Linked DNA regions of Homo sapiens: all the other regions are linked to region 7. Evidence: promoter capture Hi-C in 16 types of primary human blood cells and fetal thymus (Javierre and others, 2016). All regions are on one chromosome and are shown on one strand. Each heading gives the region's core, a stretch centred on a gene start or on the middle of the fragment in contact. The rest is flanking DNA. Distances are from core to core; before and after follow the strand shown. Region 1 overlaps OMA1 (OMA1 zinc metallopeptidase). Region 2 overlaps OMA1 (OMA1 zinc metallopeptidase). Region 3 has its middle 12 kb from the start of OMA1. Region 4 overlaps OMA1 (OMA1 zinc metallopeptidase). Region 5 overlaps OMA1 (OMA1 zinc metallopeptidase). Region 6 holds the start of PATJ (PATJ crumbs cell polarity complex component). Region 7 holds the start of HOOK1 (hook microtubule tethering protein 1).

What was found. Contacts are between HindIII fragments. The CHiCAGO score rates a contact against its expected background, and 5 or more counts as called.
Region 1: a contact is called between a fragment that was not itself captured here and the fragment with the promoter of HOOK1 in region 7, in 7 of 17 cell types (naive CD4 T cells, total CD4 T cells, naive CD8 T cells and 4 more). The highest score is 13.3, in naive CD4 T cells.
Region 2: a contact is called between a fragment that was not itself captured here and the fragment with the promoter of HOOK1 in region 7, in 9 of 17 cell types (non-activated CD4 T cells, total CD8 T cells, total CD4 T cells and 6 more). The highest score is 18.4, in non-activated CD4 T cells.
Region 3: a contact is called between a fragment that was not itself captured here and the fragment with the promoter of HOOK1 in region 7, in 6 of 17 cell types (non-activated CD4 T cells, naive CD4 T cells, naive B cells and 3 more). The highest score is 10.4, in non-activated CD4 T cells.
Region 4: a fragment that was not itself captured here is called in contact with the fragment with the promoter of HOOK1 in region 7 in 11 of 17 cell types (total B cells, M2 macrophages, naive B cells and 8 more); the score reaches 13.7 in total B cells.
Region 5: a contact is called between a fragment that was not itself captured here and the fragment with the promoter of HOOK1 in region 7, in 2 of 17 cell types (M2 macrophages and monocytes). The highest score is 8.2, in M2 macrophages.
Region 6: a contact is called between the fragment with the promoter of PATJ here and the fragment with the promoter of HOOK1 in region 7, in 8 of 17 cell types (non-activated CD4 T cells, activated CD4 T cells, naive CD4 T cells and 5 more). The highest score is 12.1, in non-activated CD4 T cells.

What each region holds. Positions count from the first base shown.
Region 1 is chr1:58,519,685-58,522,641 of GRCh38, forward strand. The region is part of intron 7 of OMA1 (OMA1 zinc metallopeptidase); the gene reads right to left. It also overlaps a transcript of DAB1 not described here. Among named protein-coding and RNA genes, the nearest start is that of OMA1, 26 kb to the right of the region's middle. The HindIII fragment of the contact is 3,020 bases long and covers 1-2,761 here.
Region 2 is chr1:58,541,396-58,544,211 of GRCh38, forward strand. All of the region lies in intron 1 of OMA1 (OMA1 zinc metallopeptidase), which reads right to left. It also overlaps a transcript of DAB1 not described here. Among named protein-coding and RNA genes, the nearest start is that of OMA1, 3.9 kb to the right of the region's middle. The HindIII fragment of the contact is 261 bases long and covers 1,326-1,586 here.
Region 3 is chr1:58,557,675-58,560,648 of GRCh38, forward strand. No RefSeq gene overlaps it. Among named protein-coding and RNA genes, the nearest start is that of OMA1, 12 kb to the left of the region's middle. The HindIII fragment of the contact is 3,173 bases long and covers 1-2,974 here.
Region 4 is chr1:58,495,486-58,498,388 of GRCh38, forward strand. The region is part of intron 8 of OMA1 (OMA1 zinc metallopeptidase); the gene reads right to left. It also overlaps a transcript of DAB1 not described here. Among named protein-coding and RNA genes, the nearest start is that of OMA1, 50 kb to the right of the region's middle. The HindIII fragment of the contact is 533 bases long and covers 1,042-1,574 here.
Region 5 is chr1:58,478,567-58,481,572 of GRCh38, forward strand. It overlaps OMA1 (OMA1 zinc metallopeptidase), which reads right to left. Exons shown (of 9, transcript NM_145243.5): 9 at 2,153-2,608. The coding sequence ends at 2,399. It also overlaps a transcript of DAB1 not described here. Among named protein-coding and RNA genes, the nearest start is that of OMA1, 67 kb to the right of the region's middle. The HindIII fragment of the contact is 6,288 bases long and covers 1-3,006 here.
Region 6 is chr1:61,741,230-61,743,929 of GRCh38, forward strand. PATJ (PATJ crumbs cell polarity complex component) reads left to right here and starts at 1,251. Exons shown (of 44, transcript NM_001350145.3): 1 at 1,251-1,326. It overlaps PATJ-DT (PATJ divergent transcript), which reads right to left and starts at 1,555. Exons shown (of 1, transcript NR_185910.1): 1 at 769-1,555. RefSeq lists a silencer at 1,003-1,712. The HindIII fragment of the contact is 6,850 bases long and covers 1-2,700 here.
Region 7 is chr1:59,813,616-59,816,559 of GRCh38, forward strand. HOOK1 (hook microtubule tethering protein 1) reads left to right here and starts at 1,334. Exons shown (of 22, transcript NM_015888.6): 1 at 1,334-1,565. The coding sequence starts at 1,503. It overlaps LOC105378758 (a long non-coding RNA gene), which reads right to left and starts at 1,251. Exons shown (of 5, transcript XR_947426.3): 1 at 1,147-1,251. RefSeq lists a silencer at 802-1,401 and an enhancer at 1,638-2,201. The HindIII fragment of the contact is 6,303 bases long and covers 1-2,906 here.

The DNA of each region.
Region 1 (2,957 bases), core at 2-2,501, 1.3 Mb before region 7:
AGACAACAGAAACGGACCCAGCTATAATACAGAGATTAGAGTTAAGAAACATGAATTTTTAAAAAAATATATGATTAACATATTCAAGAAAATATAAACAAAGAAACATATGACAAAATGGAGAATTTCACCAGAGAAGTGAAATTTATAAAAGAGCATCAAAGGGATATTCTGGAATGAAAAGACAAAGTAACTGAAATTTAAAACTCAAATACGAATTTAATGTAGAACAAATACAGCTAAAAATAAGATTAATGAACTTCAAGATAGGTAGTGGAAAACACATTCTGATACATGGACAGTCAGAGGTTAAGTGATTAGCCTATTGCATGTTCTCACTCATAAGGGGGAGCTAAACATTGACTACACATGGACACAAAGATGGGAACAACAGACACTGGCAACTACCAGAGGGAAGGGGGAAGGAGGGGAGCAAGGGTTGAAAAACCACCTTTTGGGTACCATGCTCACTACCTCGGGGAGAGGATCATTTGTACACCAAATCTTAGCAACGTGCAATTTACCCACGTAACAGACCTGCACGTGTACCCTGGAACCTAAACGTTGAAAAAAATAAAAAATAAAAGAGCAAGCCACAGAATGAAAGAAAACACTTGCAAGACACATATCTGACAAAGAACTTGCACCTAGCACTTATGTGAAAAACTCCTACAACTCAAGAATAAGAACACAAACTTCCTTGCCCAATTTGAAAATGGGAAAAATATCTGAGAAGATAATTCACAAAGGAATATAAATGAAGTGCCAATAGACACATAAAAATGTTCCACATTATATAAATAATTACAAATAAGAAATGCAAATTAAACAAATAGACTAACTTTTCCCCAAAAAAGGGCAAAGATAAAAACAACAGCAATGTTCTGTTTACAAGGGCTACACACACAAGAACACAGGAGGTTTGAAAATCAGAATATTAAAGATTTACCATGCAAGCACTAACTGAAAGAAAGCTGAAATAACAATACTAAAAGGAAAAAGTGGACATTAGGCAAGAAGTATTACTAGAGACAGTGATTTTATTGCAAGAAAAGGACCAATCCACTAGGAAAATCTAACAATCTAACAAGTATGTATATTAAAGATACTTTTAAGATGTACACGGCAAAAATTAATAGCCCTAAAAGGAAAAAAGAAAAATCTACAACCATAATGAAATATTACCAAACCTCTCTTGATAACTACAAAAAAAAGGAAAAAAAATCAGCAAGAATATAGAAGATCTGAAACAACAAAATTGACACACTTGGCAAAACTGACATCCACAGAACACCACCCGCAATGGCAGGATCCACTTTCAAGTGCACGTCATTTTGACAAAATTGATCACATCCTGAGCCACAAAGCAAGACCCAACCCTTTTCAAAGGATTCCAGTCATTCAGTATATTATCCAATCAGAGTGTAACTAAGCTAGAAATCGAAAACAAAAGGTAACTTTAAAATCATCAAATGTTCAAAAACTAAGCAATATACTTCTAAATAACCCATGGGTCAAAGAAGAAACCACAGCGAAAACAAGAATACATTTTAAACTGAAGAAAAAATAACATATCAACCCTTGCAACATGACAAGTAAAGATGCTCTCAGAGGAAAATGTACGGCCTTAAATGTATGTACTAGAAAAAAAAAAGAGTTTAAAATAAATGATAGTAGTATTCATCTTAAGTTAGGGAAAGAACCACATATGAAACCCAAAAAATGAATGCAGAATAAAATAATGAAAAAAAATGGTAACTGACATAACAGAAAACAATTATATAATAGAGACAATAAGCAAACCCAAAAGATGGTTTTGAAAAGATTGATGAAAGTGATAAAATCTAGCAAAAAAAAGACAAGACAAAGAGCACCAATATTAACAAAGGGGACATTTAAAAGATACATGTAAAATAACAGGTATCCTTCAGACATTAAAATATAATAAGAGTATATTAAAACAACTTCATGCCAATGATTTTGAAAATTAAACAAAAATTCCTAGAAAAACTACAAAAACTGAAACAAGAAATAGAAAAATCTGAATAGTTCTATATCTATTAAAGAGACTGAATCCATAATTAAAGACAAACTCATGAAGAAATCTTCAGGCCCATATGGCTTTACCCAGGAATTCTCCAAACGTTTAAAAAATAAATATAGCTAATCTTACAAAAACTCTTCTGGAGAAGAGAAAATGAAGAACACTTCCCTGATCAATTTTATGAGGCCAGCATAACTTTGATTCCAAAACCTGACAGGACATTACAAGAAAAGAAAATTCTAGGCGACTATCTCCTTTGAACATAGGATAAACATTCTAAACTAAGCATTAAACCAATTCTAGCAATATATTAAGGGATAATTGACAAAATTAGGTATATTTCCCCAAAAATGCAACTTAACTTTAAAAAAAATTAATGTAATTTGCCCAATAACAGATTAAAGGAGAAAAATCATATAATCATCTCAATACAGGCAGAAAATGCAGGGGGAAGGAGAACATCAGGAAGAATAGCTAATGGATGCTGGGCTTAATACCTAGGTGATGAGTTGATCTGTGCAGCAAACCACTGTGACACATATTTATTAATGTAACAAACCTGCACATCTGCACATGTACCCTGGAACTTTAAAGTTGAAGAAAAAGTGCAGAAAATGCATTTGATAAAATTTAATATATATACATAATTTTTTTAAATCTTAGGATATTAGAAATGGAAGAGAAACTCTTTCATTTGATAAAAAAGTATCTATAAAAAGCTTACAACAAACATCATAATGGTGAAATACTGAATGCTTTCTTGCCCCTAAGATCAGGGAGATACAAAGTTGCCCATCACCAACTTTGTACTAAAGTTTTTGGCTATTGCAATAAAGCAAAAATTAAAAAGTACAGTTGACCCTTGAACAACATGGAGGTTAAGGGCACTGACCCCTCTGTGCAGTCAAAAATC
Region 2 (2,816 bases), core at 206-2,705, 1.3 Mb before region 7:
GCAAACTAATCCATAGTGACAGAGAGATGAGTGACTGCTTGAGGAGTTGTAGGAAAAAAGCAGCAGGGGAAGGGATTACAAAGAGTGGTGCTTGCCTGTAAACCCAGCTACTTGGGAGGCTGAGGCAGGAGAATCACTTGAACCTGGGAGGCAAGAGACTGCAGTGAGCCAAAATTGTGCCACTACACTCCGGCGTGGGCAACAGAATGAGAACCTGTCAAAAAAAAAAAAAAAAAAAAAAAAAAACCAAAAACAAAAAACAAAAAAACCCAGATTGAGGGAATCTAAATATGAATTGAATTTCAAGTTGTTTTAGGTAATTATTATTTTCTTAGGTGATAATATTGTGGTTATCTGACTATTTTATTCCTGAGATACTTGCTGAAGGATCTGTTCATGATAAATAAAACTCACTTTCAAATTGTACAGCAAAGGTACACACACAAAGGACATAAAGTCAATAAACAAAATATCAGCAATCATTGTATCTCAGTGATAGTTACATATGTGTTCCTTAAATTTTTCTGCATGTTTCAAAATCTTCATATAAAAGTTGGGGAAAAAAATATGTAAACTTCAACCTAAGCTAATACGATATTATCTAGAAAGATGCTCCAGGACTACCAGTTTTAATAGTATTATCTATATATCAAACCATTTGAAAATTACTCAAATTTATTTTTTATGTAATTCATACATCCTGCCCTTGCACTGTTAATGTATAATGTTAATAAAGGGCATGCTAAGTAAAACATTAACTTTGAGTTAACCCTTTTTGAAATACAACCAATTTTAAATTAGTAAAGTCCAGGCTGATATATAATAGTTTGACATTATTAACAAGATACTTTGTTTTTACTTTTTTGAACCAAGCTGAAAAATTGTTAAATAATTTAAGCCTAGAAGTCATTTCACAATTCATACTGGAGTAGCTAGTAAGGTTTTCATTGGCTAGGGGCCATGAGAGTTATGCAGCACAGAATATAGTCCTGCTCTCATGGAGGTTATAATCTAGTTGGGGAGACAAAACTGAACCTAAGTAAGACTATTAGGGGATAATAAAATTCAGTTATTAAATACTACATACTGTATGCATTCTTAAAAAGACATCCATGAGTAGCTGAAGAGTTCAGGAAGGCAGCAATTATTTTTCATGCCATTTAGGCAGATGCAGAAAGACAAAAAAAAATGGAAAGAACTGTTTTAAATGGGAAAGTGTTTTAAGGTTTAAATGTAAAGTCTTCTTCTAGAAGTCAAACTGCAAAAACAACCCAAGCCCACTTTCTTTCCTTGACCTCAAATCTGATGATTTACTGTAGTAGATAAGCTTCAGACACTTGCCCAAGCACAAGTCCTTTTCCAAATGTGCATCTTACAGCCTCATTTTAGGGGACAGGCTTAGACGGCCACATTCATCCCTAGCAACCCCTACCATTAGCTACAGAGCTAGGAGTAGGTATTTGATACTGAAAAGATTTTACATAAAACAGTATTCCGCACAGGAATATAAGGGCATGTGTAAGTTGGGTCTACAGCGGGTGCTATGGCTAAACAAAGCAATATGAAAGCAAGAACTACAAACAAAAAGCTTTTTTAAAAAAAAAAAAGTGGATCCACAGAAAAGACAATGGACTATTAAGTGTAGACAGAAGATAAGTGAGAGACCACAAAGCCAGAGTGAATATGAGAGAATAAGACCTCCCTGATTCCCATGAAACCATTGTACTTCCTACACTTAATTGAGCTTCATGAGCTTTTACTTTATCCCCAAAATAATGCGCTTTCTTCAATGAGTTTCTGTATTCTGCAAATAAATGATCTCTAAGACGTTTACATGGTATAAAACAGTTATACATTTGTTTTTGTAAATTGACAGCATTTTAATATTATACATGTTGTTTACTGGAACTAGCTGAGGGTTCCTCCTACACTTTGCAAAGCCAAATTTACCAATTTTCAACATTTAATCAGTTCCAGAAATACTGGATTATCTCTACAGCAACTTTAGCATCCAAAATATCTCAGCCCACATTAAATCAGTCATGTCAATTCTACCTCCTTCTTATCTCATTCTAGCCTTTCCTGGGCTCTGTGGTCTTATGGTGTTGATCACTACCCACCTAATCTCCCTGCCTTATTTCACCACTAACCCCTCCCACTACAGTTTGACCCCAAACTAGAGCTAAAGCATTATTTCTAAAATGCAAACCCTGGCAACAGAATCCTACCCCGACAATTAACATACAGTCCTACCCTGGTAAATACCAGGTAATCATTTAAAAAATGACATGATGATCTGTAAATCTTTAAAAGATTTAAAAGATAGCAATCTCTGGCAAAGGGATATACAAATTTAAAAATAATAATAAATGCTACCTAAAAACTTCTGTATAACAGAGGTGGCAAACTCAAACGTCTAAAGAAGCACCATACAACAGACCTTTCTACAATGATAAAAATGTTCATGTCTGCACTGTCCAATAAGGTAGCCCCTACATGTGGCTACTGAGCATTTGAAATGTGACTGGTGCATCTGAGGAATGAAATTTTTAACTCAGTTAAATGGCCATATGTGGCTAGTGTCTACTGTATCGCACAGTACAGGTTTGTAGGGTCCAGGCAAGTGAATATCAGCAAAGTGATACTGATGTGAATGCAGATTCATGACCATCTAAAGGAGGTGCAAACAGTTATGATGGAATTTGAACTTGCTGTGGCCAAATGATTCAAAACTTTTAAGTAAAGCCAGAATTTCAGATTTTAGGTGAAATTTATCAATTTTTAAATGTTGGCAATGAACTTAAAAAATTTTAACG
Region 3 (2,974 bases), core at 255-2,754, 1.3 Mb before region 7:
TAAATTCTACCAAACATTTAAAGAAGAAATTATACTAATTCTCTACAATCTGTTTCAGAAGATAGAAACAAAGGAATACTTCCTAACTCATTCTATAAGGCCAGCATTACCTTAATACCAAAACCAGACAAAGATATAAGAAAATAAAATATATCAGCAAATATCTTTCATGAACATAAATGCAAAATTCCTCAAAAAAATGCCACCATATTGAATACAACAATGTATAAAAGGATTCTTATAGCACGACCAAATGGGAATTATTCTAGATATTCATAGGTCAACACTTAAAAATCAATTAATGTAATTTATCACATCAGCAGGCTAAAGAAGGAAAGTCACATGATCGTATTAATACATGCAGAAAAAGCGTTTGACAAAATCCTATGTCTAGTCATAAAAACAAAAACCTCTCAGTAAACTAGGAACAGAGGGAAACTTCCTAAACTTGGTAAAGAATCTCTACAAAAAGCCTACAGCTAACGTCATACTTAATGGTGAAAAACTAGATGCTTTCCCACTAAAATCAGGAACAAGACAAGGATGTCACCTCTCACCACTGCTTTGCAACCTTGTACTAGAAGTCAAAACTAATGCAATACAATGAGAACAAGAAATGTAAGGTATATGGATTGGGAAGGAAGAAATAAAACTGTCTTTGTTGTAGATGACATGTTCATCTAAAGACAGAATCCAAAAGAATTAACCAAAAAGAGAAAAAAACCCTCCTGAAACTAATAAGCAATTAAAGCAAGGTTGCAGGATACAAGATTAATATGCAAGTCAACTACTTTCCTACATGCCAGCAATAAACAAGTGAAGTCTGAAATTAAAAACACAATACCATTTACATTAGCATCACTCAAAATGAAATACTTAGGTATAAATTTTTCTTTTTAAGTATAAGATCTATATGAGAAAAAGTGCACAATTTTAATGAAAGAAATCAAGAACTAAATAAGAGATATTCTGTTATTCATGGATGGGAAGACATAATATTGTCAGTCAGTTCTTCCCAACTTGACCTATAGAGTCAATGTAATTTCAATGAAACTCTCATCGAGTTATTTTGTGGATATTGCCAAACTAATTCTAAAAGCAAAGACGCCGGAGTAGCCAAGACAATATTAAAAGTGAACAAAATTAGAGAACTGACACTACCAGACTTCTAGACTTACTATGAAACTACAGTAATCAAGACAGTGCTGTACTGGCAAAAGAAGAGACAAATAGACCAAAGGAACAGAAAAGGGAGTCCGAGTCCAGAATTAGACCCATATAGATATAGTCAACTCATCTTTGACAAAGAAGCAAAGGTAATACAATGGAGAAAAGATAATCTTTTCAAAAAATGGTGCTGGAACAACTAGATAGCCACATACCAAAAAACAAACAAACAGAAAAAAAAAAAACGAATCTAGACACAGACCTTACACTCTTCACAAAAATTAACTAAAAATGGATTACGGATGTAAATGTAAAATGCAAAACCAAAAGACTCCATTTTGCATTGTAAAATGCAAAAGTATAAAAATAGATTTTCTCACGGTGTTGCTCCAGCCTGGGAGAAAATCTAGATGACCTTGCATTTGCCAATGACTTTTTTTTTTTTTTTTTGAGACAAAGTCTTGCTCTGTCACCCAGCCTGGAGTGCAGTGGTGGCATCTTGGCTCACTGCAAGCTCCGCCTGCCAGGTTCTTGCCATTCTCCTGCCTCAGCCTTCCGAGCAGCTGGGACTACAGGCACCTGCCACCACGCCAGGCTAAGTTTTTGTATTTTTAGTAGAGACGGGGTTTCACCGTGTTAGCCAGGATGGTCTCGATCTCCTGACCTCGTGATCCACCCTCCTTAGCCTCCCAATGTGCTGGGATTACAGGCATGAGCCACTGAGCCCAGCCAGCAATGACTTTTTAAGTGCAACACCAAAGGCATGATCTATGTAAAAAACAATTAATAAAATGGACTTTATTAAAATTAAAATTTTCTGCCCTGAAAAAGATACTGTCAGGAGAGTTAAAAGAAAAGTGACAGACTGGGGAAAGTATTTGCAAAAAAATACCTATTTTTAAAATGTTATTCAAAATATGTGAATAACTCTTAAAACTCAACAACATAAACACACAAAAAAATCTGATTAAAAATGGGTCAAAGACCTTAACAAATATCTCATCAAAGAAGAAATACAGATGATAAATAAGCATATAAAAAGATGCCCTACATCATATGTCACCAGGAAAATGCAAATTAAAACAACGAGATACCACTACACACCTATTAGAATGGCCAAAAGGCAGCACACTGATAACATCAAATGCTGGTGAGGCTGTGAAGCCACTGGAATTCTCATTCATTGCTGGTAAGAATGTAAAAATGGTACAGCCACTTTGAAAGACCAGCTTCTTACCAAACTAAACATACTACTTTTTATCAATGATCCAGCACTTGCACTCCCTGATAGTTACCCAAAGACATTGAAAACTTATGCCTGCACAAAAACCTACACACAGGTGTTTATAGCAGACTTAATGCCAAAACTTGGAAGCAATAAAGATGTCCTTCAGTAGGTGAGTGGATAAAAAAAGCGGCAGTACATCAAGACAATGGAATATTATGCAGCAATAAAAAGAAATAAGCTATTAAGCCATGAAAAGACATGAAAGGCTGGGTGTGGTGGCACATGCCTGTAGTCCCAGCTGCTTGAGAGGCTGAGGTGGGAGGATGACTTGAGCCCATGAGTTCAAGTCCAGCCTGGGCAATATAATGAGACCTCATCACTAAATAAAATAATAAATAAATAAATAAAGTTTTAAAAGAAAAAGGCATAGGAGAAACATAAATGCATATTACTAAATTCAAGGAGCCAATCTGAAAAGGTGACATACTGTATAATTCCAACTATATAACATTCTGGAAAAGGCAAAATTATAGAGACAATAAAAAGATCAATTGTTGCCACAAGTTAGGGTAAAGTGAA
Region 4 (2,903 bases), core at 58-2,557, 1.3 Mb before region 7:
ATTATTCAGCTGAATTTTTTGGTAGTTCCTTACTTGATCTGTGGTTTTCTAACAATGGCAGGGTGCAAGCTAGTTACAATTATATTTAAACAAACAAAACTGTATATTTTATCTAATTCCTGATTGTCAGTAGATTCTGGAAAGAGCACTGTTGCAACCAAGAACTTCACTGACATATTGTCCTATGTGTTTCATTTGCTAAGGATCTTCCACCATAAAAAAAAAAAAAGTTAGTTTTTGTAGATATCATACCAAAGTGTATTAGTTCCACTGTTTTTTGTTTTGTTTCTTTCCTCCAAAACTCTTACACTTCCTCCAACAGCAAGAAGTATAAGAACTTAGGAGGAAAGAAATATCTTCCTTATGCTTATGAAAAGAAAGGTCCAGAGTCATTCTTACTCTTGTATGCCTTTTTACCTAGGTAGCTTGTAAAAGCCTGTCTTTGCAATGAAGATTAAACACTTCATAAGTTTAAATATCTAAGCTTGTCATTTCAGGGCTTCCCATGGATGATACTCTGGGAATCTCCTAAAAACCCATCTTGAGAAATGTTAACTAAATAAAAAAATATGATATAGAAACCACAATCAAAGAAATGAAGACATGTACAAATGTATCTTTCCCATTGTTATATGCAGCTTGGATTTCCTGGTGCCTTTTCAATATTCTTTCATTTTTTTAGACTTTTTTTTTTTGGCTTTGGGCATTTTAATTTGGTTGTGCTATGTTCCTCTATCTTCCGCATCAATGAGTCTTTGCTCTGAGGTATCAATTCTGCTCTTTACAGCCTCCACCGAAAGTTTTACAGCTTCTCTGTTGAATTCACAAGTTTAACAATTTTCTGAAATGGATTTATCTTACATTTGTAAAGTCGTTCTTTCAGATTCTGTCACTTTCAGTGCAGTTAAATCAACCTTATCATGCCAGCTTCAGGTGGCACTGCTTCTATGTTCTTGCCGCCTTGCCTGTCCTCTCCCATAAAGTAACATTTTTAAGTTTGACTTGAGATTTGGTTTTGTTTTTCGTATTTCTGCTCTTTAAAGCTTATCTCACTGGGGAACAATGAGCATTTCAGAGGCTTTGTTTTGTTGCTATTGCTGAATTTTGTTTACATGAGGGTCCTTGTGGAGTTATTAAAGGCACTTAGACATTCAATAATCTTTTAAATAAGATTATCCTCATTTTTCCTTTCAACTCTGTTTTTCCAACTCTTGTACACTTACCGTTCTGATTTTTTAAAAGTCTCTCTTACCTACCTCTTAAGTCTATTCCTGAATAAGATAAAAGTGTCTGCAACATCTTTTATTCCATTAGGGTTAATTTGGCTGGTCTGAGTTCTAAATAGATTCTACATAGATTTCTCGTGAAGACACATTTCTCAGGTTGTTTGAAAACTGATTATTTGCAGGGTGGTGCTAAATTATCACCCCACAATCACTTGCTGGCCACAAGGAAGAAAACCACCTTTGCAAACAAAGAACCAGGCCATCACCATCCAACCCACTGATGGCCTTCAGCATCACCAGATGTGGGGCAGCCAGGTATTAAGAGACTTCCAATGCAAAGCACTATGAAGCTTAGTTGCATCACCTATAAAATATCCTTCCCAAAATTTAATCTCTATTTACAGGTATATATAGAAACAAGTTAGAAATACCACGAAGAAGCAATCAAGTTAATCCAGAATCTACAATGTGGGATTATATGTACTCACCAATTCAATGACAAGTTTTAAAACAAACAAAACAAAAGGGAGGGGGGTACTGTCCTAAAGTCAAAAGGACTTTAGGGACGTAAGGACCAAATGCAATGTGTGGATCATGAAGTATCCTAATTTAAACAGGCCAACTGTAACACTGCTGAGATACAGAAATCTGATGTAGACAGAATATTTAATTTTAAGGAATTACTATGAGTTTCCTTAGGCATGATAATGTTATGATTATGGAAGAAAATGATACTACTTTCTGAAATGCATACTAAAGTTGATGGAGTTCAGGACATATCATTCCAAAATAAGACTCCAGGAGACCAGACTATGCCACCCCAAATATGCCTCTTTAGCATAAGAGTTATTTTCTACTAATTATTTTGGGCAATAGCAGACATAGGGGAAGTTCTGAAAACAGGAAGAAGAAGTTACCGTTTTCTCAGAGAAATATGTATCTACGAAGGAAATCTCTAATTTGCAAGTATGTCTCCCTCTCTGTACCAGAAAGAGAAGGATGACTCTAAATCACTGGAAACTCTTATCAACAAAGAAGGTACAATCTACATAACAAACCTTACCCTTGCTCACTGCTTTTCCTGACCACCTCTCTACAACGTGGCGGCTTTCCCTGCACCTTTCTGTCTTAGTTTCAGTTGAAGATGGTATTTACACCTGAACTCAAAGCCACCTCTTGGAGAATTATTCATTCCATGGGTATCTCCCAGGTATACAGGAAGTATACATGTTAAAAAGCTTCCATTTCCCTCTTGTTAATCTGTCTTTTAATACAGGGGTTCATCTCAACTAAGAACTATGAAGCATAGAGAGAAAATTATTTTCTCCTCCCCTATAAGGCCCTGATATCTGGGCTTTATATCAAAATACTTCTGAGAAAAACAGAGATGGGACAGATGAAGCAAGTGTATAAAAGGATTATACTGTTCAATATCAGTGGGTGAAAAATAGGGGCTCATTAAGCTATTCAAATTATTCTCTATCTTGACATGTATTTTAAACATTTATAATAATGGTAAAACTAAAAGTTAAAAAAAAAAAACAACTTTTTCCATTGTCTTCCATTCTCCTCTACCATTTTTGCATTCCTATAACTTCACCCTTGATTTTACAACTGTTTTTAGTTCTAAATGGCTCATGAGAGGTTTAAATTTTAAATATTTCTCCTGGAAAATGA
Region 5 (3,006 bases), core at 466-2,965, 1.3 Mb before region 7:
TCCACAACTACAGAAGCAGATTTTACAGAGTATGATTGTTTCTCCTTTTTTTCAATCCTTTGAACAGATAATTATTGTACAGTGTCAATGTTAATTGAATGCCTATAATGTGCAAAGCATTATAAGTATATAGCAGTAAATATACACACTGTCCTTTAGTTTTAGAGGATAGTCTCACCCTATCTGAATTATAGAAAAGATCGGGTTGAGTTTGTGCCTTGGATTTATTAGCATCATGCTCCTAACAACTAAGTTAACCAGCCTATCATCTAAATCCTATAGGCACATGAAAAGTATTGACAGGAACAAAGTAGTTCTGCAACTAAGTGTAGAACATACAGCTTATTTCCATATAAAATTTAAAGTATATATATACATCTTGTATTTCAACTGCTATTTAATTTCTTCTAAAGCATTGAGCTGAACTGTAACATTTCTTTTACATTTAATTCCACTGGTTAAAAAAAATCTTTTTCATATACTATAAAGATATTATCTCTGCTCTTTCTGACATGGTGTCAACTTATATATGTTTCTAGCAAGTATGAACAACACAATTAGAAGTGACAATGGGAATGGAAGAAAAAGTAGGCCGTTGCTACATTATTTTCCTAGGAAATCTGCAGGAAAATCTAATGCTGTGTTTTACTGTTTACCTTTAGGTGACATTCTCCAAGTGTCTTTATATGTTATGGAGTGCCTTTTACAATACTCCAATCACAAGGAGTGTAAAAAATGATTATATGGAGAATAGTTAATATGAACCTCTTCATGACCAATGTTGTCTCGTGTGCAGATCAGGAAATTCCTTACAAGTAATGTATAATAATCCCTGAGAAACATAAACAGCCTCTGAACTTATCTTCTTAACAACTAGATATTTTGTCCAAGAAGATTTAATAATGTCAGGACACATCCCAAATGAGATTTCACAGGCTTTCACAGGCAGGGGGAGAGGTTCTACTCTCCTACACTGCCTCATCTATGCTTTTCATGTCAATTTTGATAGAAGGGTCTGAGAGAAGAACCTATAAAATCAACCTACAGAAAACACAAGTGGTCCCTGATTTCATAATGATGAGATTTTTACTTATATTGAAGCCATATGTGGGGAAGCTAATGAACAACTGAGAATACTTTGTTCCTTGTCTTGATAGCTTAGTCTTAGATATCTGAGAGTTGTAAAAAAATGGACAGATTTGTAGTCAGATAGACTCAGCTTTGTTCTATCTAGGTGAGAGATATTGGATATATTATGTAACTTCTCGAAGCCTATTTGTCATTGTAAAGTGAGAATAATAAAACCTAGTAGGGTTATGGAATAAAGATAAATATAGGGCCCAGTTCATAGTAGATTCACAATACAAAGTAGTCCCTTTCCTCTTTAATTCTCTAAGAAAATATTTATTTAATATAATGTATTTCAAGAAAAATGCCCTTCTTAGAAATATAACCTAAGCATCACTAGACTTCACTAGTTTGGGAATACAAATATTAAATAACTCGTATTTCCACATTTATATAATGCAGCAATTTCTGGGCACCACTGGGGGTATGTCTTGTGCTGCTTCTCTTGTCGTTTTCCTCCAGTCGTCTTGTTGATATCTGCTGCTCAGGAAGGTCAACTTGGGGACAGTGCCTTGCCTCAGCCTCTTTTGAGGGACAGTGCCTTGCCTTTGCCTCTTTTTCTTCTCTGGGAACCCGAGATTCCCAAATGGTAATCTCATGGAGCAACCAAATGACATAAACTTCTGTTAAGATTTCAGTGCACCAGGAACACGCTGTATCTCTGTGGAAATGCCCTCTCCCCCAATTCTGTTTCTTGCTTTGTCATCTGAACCACAAACTGTACTTCTTTTGCCTCCCTATGAAAATGGCTTCTGCCAGTAGCATTTTCTCCAGTCATCCACAGGTGAAGACAAGGAAATTCTCTATCCTGAGGCCCCCTTTTCCACATAATCCCACCCCAATGCAAACTATTTCCTGCAAACAGATACCTTCAGACTGTTTCCCCCTTCATCATAACGACCCAGACTTAGAAATCCAGTTTAGGCTCAGTTGAAACATTCTCTACTATAAAAACTACCGTATGGGCTCATTTCTCATCCACTAGGGGTCTGCCTTCTAAATCAAAAGCAAGTAGAAGACAGAGTAAAATGTGTAATATAAATTTATTCTGTGACATTTTCCTCATTGAAGATATTTTAACATAGATTAAAATACATCAATATTTCATGAAAAATAAATTCTAGAAGAATTTAGATAATATCTGTAATGTACATGATTTGACCCTGAATATCCTTTTTTTTTTCACTTCAAACATCATTTTTTAAAAAGTAACATAAAATGATAAGGACTGCAACATTCTTCATATATCTTGTGTCTCATAAATTTTAATTCAACTGCCCGTTCTTTTCTCAACTATGTATGTTAATGGTATTTGCTCCTGTTTTTGAATAGGAAGAGTATCCATTTTCTGTTTCTTCGTGATATTTAGGTCTTCTTTCTCTGATTCTTCAAGAAAATGCTTCGTGCTGAGTTTGAATAGTAATCGAGGGTCTGGATTAGACAGTGGTGGACAATTACACATCTCTCTAATTTTGAGAGCCTATAAAGAAATAATAAAATAAAAAAATACTATATATATACATCAATGTATTCAGATTGTTTCAGTAATCCCTAATATGCTCCATGTAAAACAAAGAATGTATTGTTATTTTTTTAATAAAAGGTATCTTGATTATAACACATAAAAGAGAACCACTGAAAAATCTACAGTGAACAGTTGTTTTCATGATTTGGTCAAATAGTATTATTTTAAAAACAACAACAATAGTATTAATAATCTGTAACAACTGCCCTAATGCTGTTTTGAGGGTAAACAAATCTTAGAGATACATCTATGGTTTCAGTTAAACTCTAGCAGACCGGAGAATCATTCAGATTTAAAAAGGCTCTATGAGAGATTTTTTTCAAGAAAAACTGCAGAACATAGATGACTGAATA
Region 6 (2,700 bases), core at 1-2,500, 1.9 Mb after region 7:
GTCTCTCTCTGTCACCCAGGCTGGAGTGCAGTGGCAGGATCTTGGCTCACTGCAACCTCTGCCTCCTGGGTTCAAGTGATTCTCCTGCCTCAGCCTCCTGCGTAGAGGGGACTACGCATCCACCACACCCGGCTAATTTTTGTATTTGTAGTAGAGACGGGGTTTCATCATATTGGTCAGGCTGGTCTCGAACTCCTGACCTCGGGTGATCCACCCGCCTCGGCCTTCCAAAGTACTGGGATTACAAGCGTGAGCCACCGCGCCCCGCCTGAAAGTCTTTATGTTGTAGTTGTTTTGTATCTATTCCTCATCTTCCTGGGGACAGGGATACCATTTTACACATCTTCCCACAATCAATCACAGTGTTTAACAATTACTGTATGTACTCTATGAATAAGATACCTGAAGATTGATTCTCTTTATCGTTAATGTGTGGACTGTATCAGGCAAAGTAAAACCCCTATCATCAAAAGCCTAAAGTTATTAAAGGGAGTGGAAGAAGGCTATCGGGACATATTTTTCTCGAAGGTGTGACATCACAAATAAAAGAAAATTAACGTATAGTGAAATCATCACTGTAGTTAGAGTCAAAATGCCTTGCCTGTGTTCCAAACTTTGGGCCAGTCAACCTACAGGGTGCACGGTTTCCTCATTAGTTTCTTCAGAGAGTAAATGAGACATTGCATAAGCTAGCACCTAGCATACAGCAGGCAAATACTGCTGGATTTCTTTCTTCCACTAAATGAGAAGAAAATAATGACTCCCACATTTACACGTTTTAGAATATTTTATTTTGCGTCAGCGAATAGAGAAAACAAAGGAGGGATGAGAGAACAGGAAAGGAAAGGGGCAAAAAGACAAAGTGTTAAGCGGATTGACCCAACGCTTTCATCGATATCCTCCTCAATTTCCTTGATCTTGGGTCTCGCTCTACACGCAGGCCTCCAACCACACCGGTCTGTCCGGATCTCCCTCCCCGTCAGTGGCGGCTGTCCCCACCACGCGCGGTCTGATCCGCCACCCCGCCCCCACAGCCCACTTTTCCCAGGCCCTTGGCCATCCCGCGCCCGGTAGGAATTCACCTGCACGTAAACAGCCAGGGCAACCGTCCTCCCTCCTTGGAGCCCGCCTCCCGCGGCCCCGGGCTCCCTCCCCCGCCCCCTGCGCCACCCCGGTGCCCCGCCCCGGGCGGGGAGAGTCGGGGCGAGGGGAGGGCCTGCCAGGTGAGGCGCGGTCACCCTGGGCCTCTCACTTCCGCCCAGGTGAGGCAGGGCCGACACCGAGCCCGCCCGACCCGGGCTCCCACCTGCTCCTCCAGCGCACCAGGTAAAGCGTGAGGTCCCGGCTGTGCAGTGCGCGCTCGCCCCTGGGTGTCCCCGCGCCTGGAGGCCGGCCGGGGGCAGCTCCCTCGGGGCTTCCCGGGCCTGCCTGCCCTGCCCCCGCGCTCTCCCCGCCCGCCCGCCTGGAGTGGGTGGGAGCCGGAGGTGGAGGGCGCCGCCGGGCGCTCAGAGGGGCCGCGGCGAGGATGGGGCGCCCGCGGCGTGCGTCCGCGCTGACCCGGGAGGCGGGGCGGGGGCGCCGTCCTCCTGCGTCGGGCCCGGGTGACCCCACGGTGGTCCCCGCCCCGCCGCGCAGGGCTCGCCGAGGCCGCGGGCAGGGAGGGGCGCCGCCCCGCCTCCCCAGGCCTTTCGGGCCTCGAATCTCGGCCCACTGGTATTCGGGGGTGGCACGGATCCTATTTTGCGCCCAGATCGGTGCCCCTGTTTCGCTCCCAGAGCTGGGCGGAGTCTTTCCCTCCATCGGTGGCCGTGGAAGGAGGGAACGGGGTGAGGGGACAAAGAGGAGGGGGTGCTCAGAGCCGGGCTGAGGGGGCGACTTGGGCCCGGCCGCGTCGCGGCGCCTGGTCATCCCGTAGCGGAGGTTCCCAAGCCAGCGGTCAGGCCCTGGGCTCTGCCAGCCTTGCTGCGTAGATGGGGAGGTTCTGTCGGAAAGTGCTTCCAGCCTTAGGGGAAATTCCTGGACTCCTGCTTTTAAATCAAGCTCAGGAAAGCATTTTCAGATCACTCCCACTCTCCAAAGCGCCCCAGCCGTCCCGCACGCAGGCCGAATTAAGTGAACACCCCTTCACTTGGCACTTTGTCATATTTCCAAGTGGCTCTTGTCACTTTGAATTCCAGTTGGTTGTTTACTGGCTTGCCTCTGCCATTTAGAGGGTGCCCCTTTCAGGGCCTTATTTTTCGACTGCATTTAGGGTCTGGCTATTGGTAGGTGCGCGACAAGTGTTTCTTAAAGGAAGGCAGAAGCCTTTGGAAACCCAGAAGGACAATGTCGGTTCCACTGAGGATGATACTACCACATTCTGGGCTAAATTCCTATTGGCTGCAAATTAATTTGCACACATCTATTTGAAAGGAGTGGAGGCAGGGGCAGCGGTTAAAAACTTAAATCTGTTTGCAGCATTAGAAAATGTTAGGTGAGATTGAGCCTTTTAGCTAAAGTGAGCTTTGATGTTTTTAGGGCCCCTAATGGCCTTTAAGATGTTAACAATAACAACAACAACAAAACACTCCAAATGTGTTGAATTTATTTGGGAATGAGAAATGAGCGTTATAGCCCGAGGTGCACAGGCCTGGCAAGCCATATATGCATGGAAGAGGGGAGGGTAAAAGGAAACTTTTATTGGCAAAGTAAGTGCAGATA
Region 7 (2,944 bases), core at 84-2,583:
GACAGCAAGACTAAGAATAGTCTAGCCCTTTTCAATCACCTAAGCCATCTATCAATACCTTGGAGAGCTTCCAATTTCAGGTCACCTCCCCCGACCCCCCTCCACCCCACAACATTCTCGGAAAAAGCAAATTTTCAACTGACAAAGGAAAATGGATACATTAATATCTTCCATGTTTTTCAAAACATTTCGTTTATTTTGCTACTTGAAAACGGTCTTCCCTTTTGCCCCATGTAAAATAAAATTGCTCATGATCTATGGTCCCGTGAGAGCTTATTTAAGGAGCACTGACGGATTCTATTTTCCTTATTAATGTGGCATATTTGCCACGTGTGCAAATGAAAACATCCCTTTCCAATGAGTGCCTAGGAGGAAATCAGCTCTTCCTTCCTCGAAGAGTTTTAATTCATGGGTATGATCTATTTCTTTCTTTCTTTATTTTGTTTTATATATTTTTTAGAGACAGAGTCTCGGTTTTTTGTCCAGGCTGGGGTGCAGTGGCATGATCTCGGCTCACTGCAACCTGTGCCTCCCGGGTTCAAGCGATTCTTCTGCCTCAGCCTCCTGAGTAGCTGGGATTACAGTCATGTGCCACCACCCCCGGCTAATCTTTGTATTTTTAGTAGAGAATGGGTTTCGCCATCTTGGCCTGGCGGGTCTCGAACTCCTGACCTCAGGTGATCCACCCGCCTCAGCCTCCCAAAGTGCTAGGATTACAGGCGTGAGCCACCTCGCCCAGCCGGTAGGATCTATTTCTGAAGACAATGTGGAAGCAGAGTGTGGGCCCTCCACAGGTGTAGCGAGGCGGCGTGCTACCGCGAAGAAGGAGGGAAGACGCCTGAGCCCAGCCGGTGCCCTGCTGCCCCTCTGCCTCTTCGGCCACTGGGGCTGAGCTTCAGCCTTACCAATCCCCGCCGCGCACGCGCGCTCGCTTCCCGCGCGCAACCTCCCACCCCCGCCCTCACTGCACCTGCCAGGTCATAAACCTCTTCCCACCCACTCTCACTCTCTACCCAAGGCTCAGGCTTGTCTCACGTTGATTGGCCAGAGCCCACGAGGGCACGTCCAATCAGCAATCCCCCCTGCGCAACCTATCCCGGTTCTTCCCGCCCCCGCCCCGCCCCGCCCGCCCCCCCGGGTACCTACCGTCTCTGTGACTGGTGCGCGGCCAGGTCACTCAGGGCGGCGGGGCGAGGTGTGCGGGAGTGGGCAGGACGGGTGGGAGGAGGGGAGGGGTGGGAGAAGGCGGGGCTCAGGTGCCTGGCAGCGCGGCCGGGGCCCAGGAAGGGGAGGGGGCGAACGCTGGAGCGAGGCGGGGGCGGGTGAGGAGGGGGTGACGCCGGACGCGTCGACAGCGCGAGGGTTCGCGCGTGAGCTGCGCGGGTCGGGCCTGGTACCGAGCTTTCCTGGGGGCTAGCAGGTCGTGGACGCCGGCTCCTGGAGGAGAGCCGGTAGGAGGGAGTGTGAAGGTGTCCGCGGCGTCGTCGACGGCGGCGCCGGCCATGGAGGAGACGCAGCCGCCGCCGCAGCCTAAGCTGCCCCTGTGCGACAGCCTCATGATCTGGGTGAGTGCGAGGAGGCGAGAGGGCGAGGGGGCCAGGGGGCCGAGGCGAGGAGCCTGGGGCGCCCGGTTCTCCCAGGTGAGCTGGGGCTACCTGCACAGGGTCCCGGCGCACCCTGCCCTTCTCACCTCGTGCCCTTGACCGAGAGAATGCCACCTGCGGGTCGACGGGCAGGTGTGTGGGCGCGGGTTGGTGTCCGGGGGTGGGGGTAAAGGAAGCTCTGGGAGCGTAACAGTGGAGGCTCTGGTCTCAACCAGAGGATTCGACCTGCCTGGTGCCCTAACAGCTGGGATATGAACCAAGCACCCATCCTCTTTTCTCCCCGCTGCCCCATTTTCTCCCCCTGAACAGCGCCCGAGCCCTCCACTTTCTGGATCGCCGACTCTCTTGCCTTGGTCCGCTTGGGCGTGAAGACCCTTTCCGAAACCTAACCCTGCATCCTCAAACTACCTTGCTCTACCTGGACACAGGTGGCCAGGAGGTGGCTGGCTGTTTTAGTTCCCGGACCAATGCTCCTTCAGGACTCTAGAACATCCGATTTTGTAGAAGCCGCTTCAAAGAGATGTTTGTATTTCCCGTATGGAGAAAAAGATGTGTTGGGAGTCGGGGGTCGTTTTCCCTTTTTCTCGCTGGCCCTCTCCTCCTCTAAATGGACAGCATTTTCTTTAAAGAAAATGAGTTGACATTTTTCTTTAGGATTTATCTGTGTTTAGGATTTTTGTTAATTTGTGTTGGGTCTGGACAGGCATATCTGTCCCCAGATTGTTCAATATTCCAGTCAGCAAAATGACATCCCACCTCTTAGAGTTACTTAGATATCAGTGCTGGCATTCAGGTGTGGTTCTTAACCCATATTGAGTAAAGATGGTGTTTGATGAGCCACAAGGTGCTGTTGATGATGCTCATCCCAAACCAGTTGTTTAGTTGCGTCTAGGGGAGTGTGTGCAGATGGAATGTAAACAGACGGGATCAGGAGGCTGTAATCGGTTGAGATTCCCTAGTGATCTAATGCATCTAATTCCAAAGAATGAGAAATCTAGGTTTATGGAAATGTGTGAAGCCTATTGGAAATAGCCATAATTTAAAGCATTTACACTTTGTAAGTAAATAACTTTTGCTTTTAGTGGAATGCAAATATTTAGGGTTTGTGAGTTAAAAGCAATTAGCTAACTGTTCAGCTGAATTTTCATTTGAAATAGGTATTGGGGTGGAAGTGCTGTATTTAAGACTGTCGTAGAAACAAGGCAACATTACTTTTAATGATTTGTTTTGTTAAAACAGACTAATTAAAGGGTGTATCCGAATCTGCTACATTATTGTAAACCTCAATTGACTGAAGTGTTAAGCTTAGTCTTTATGATGTCATTGATTTACATGTGAGG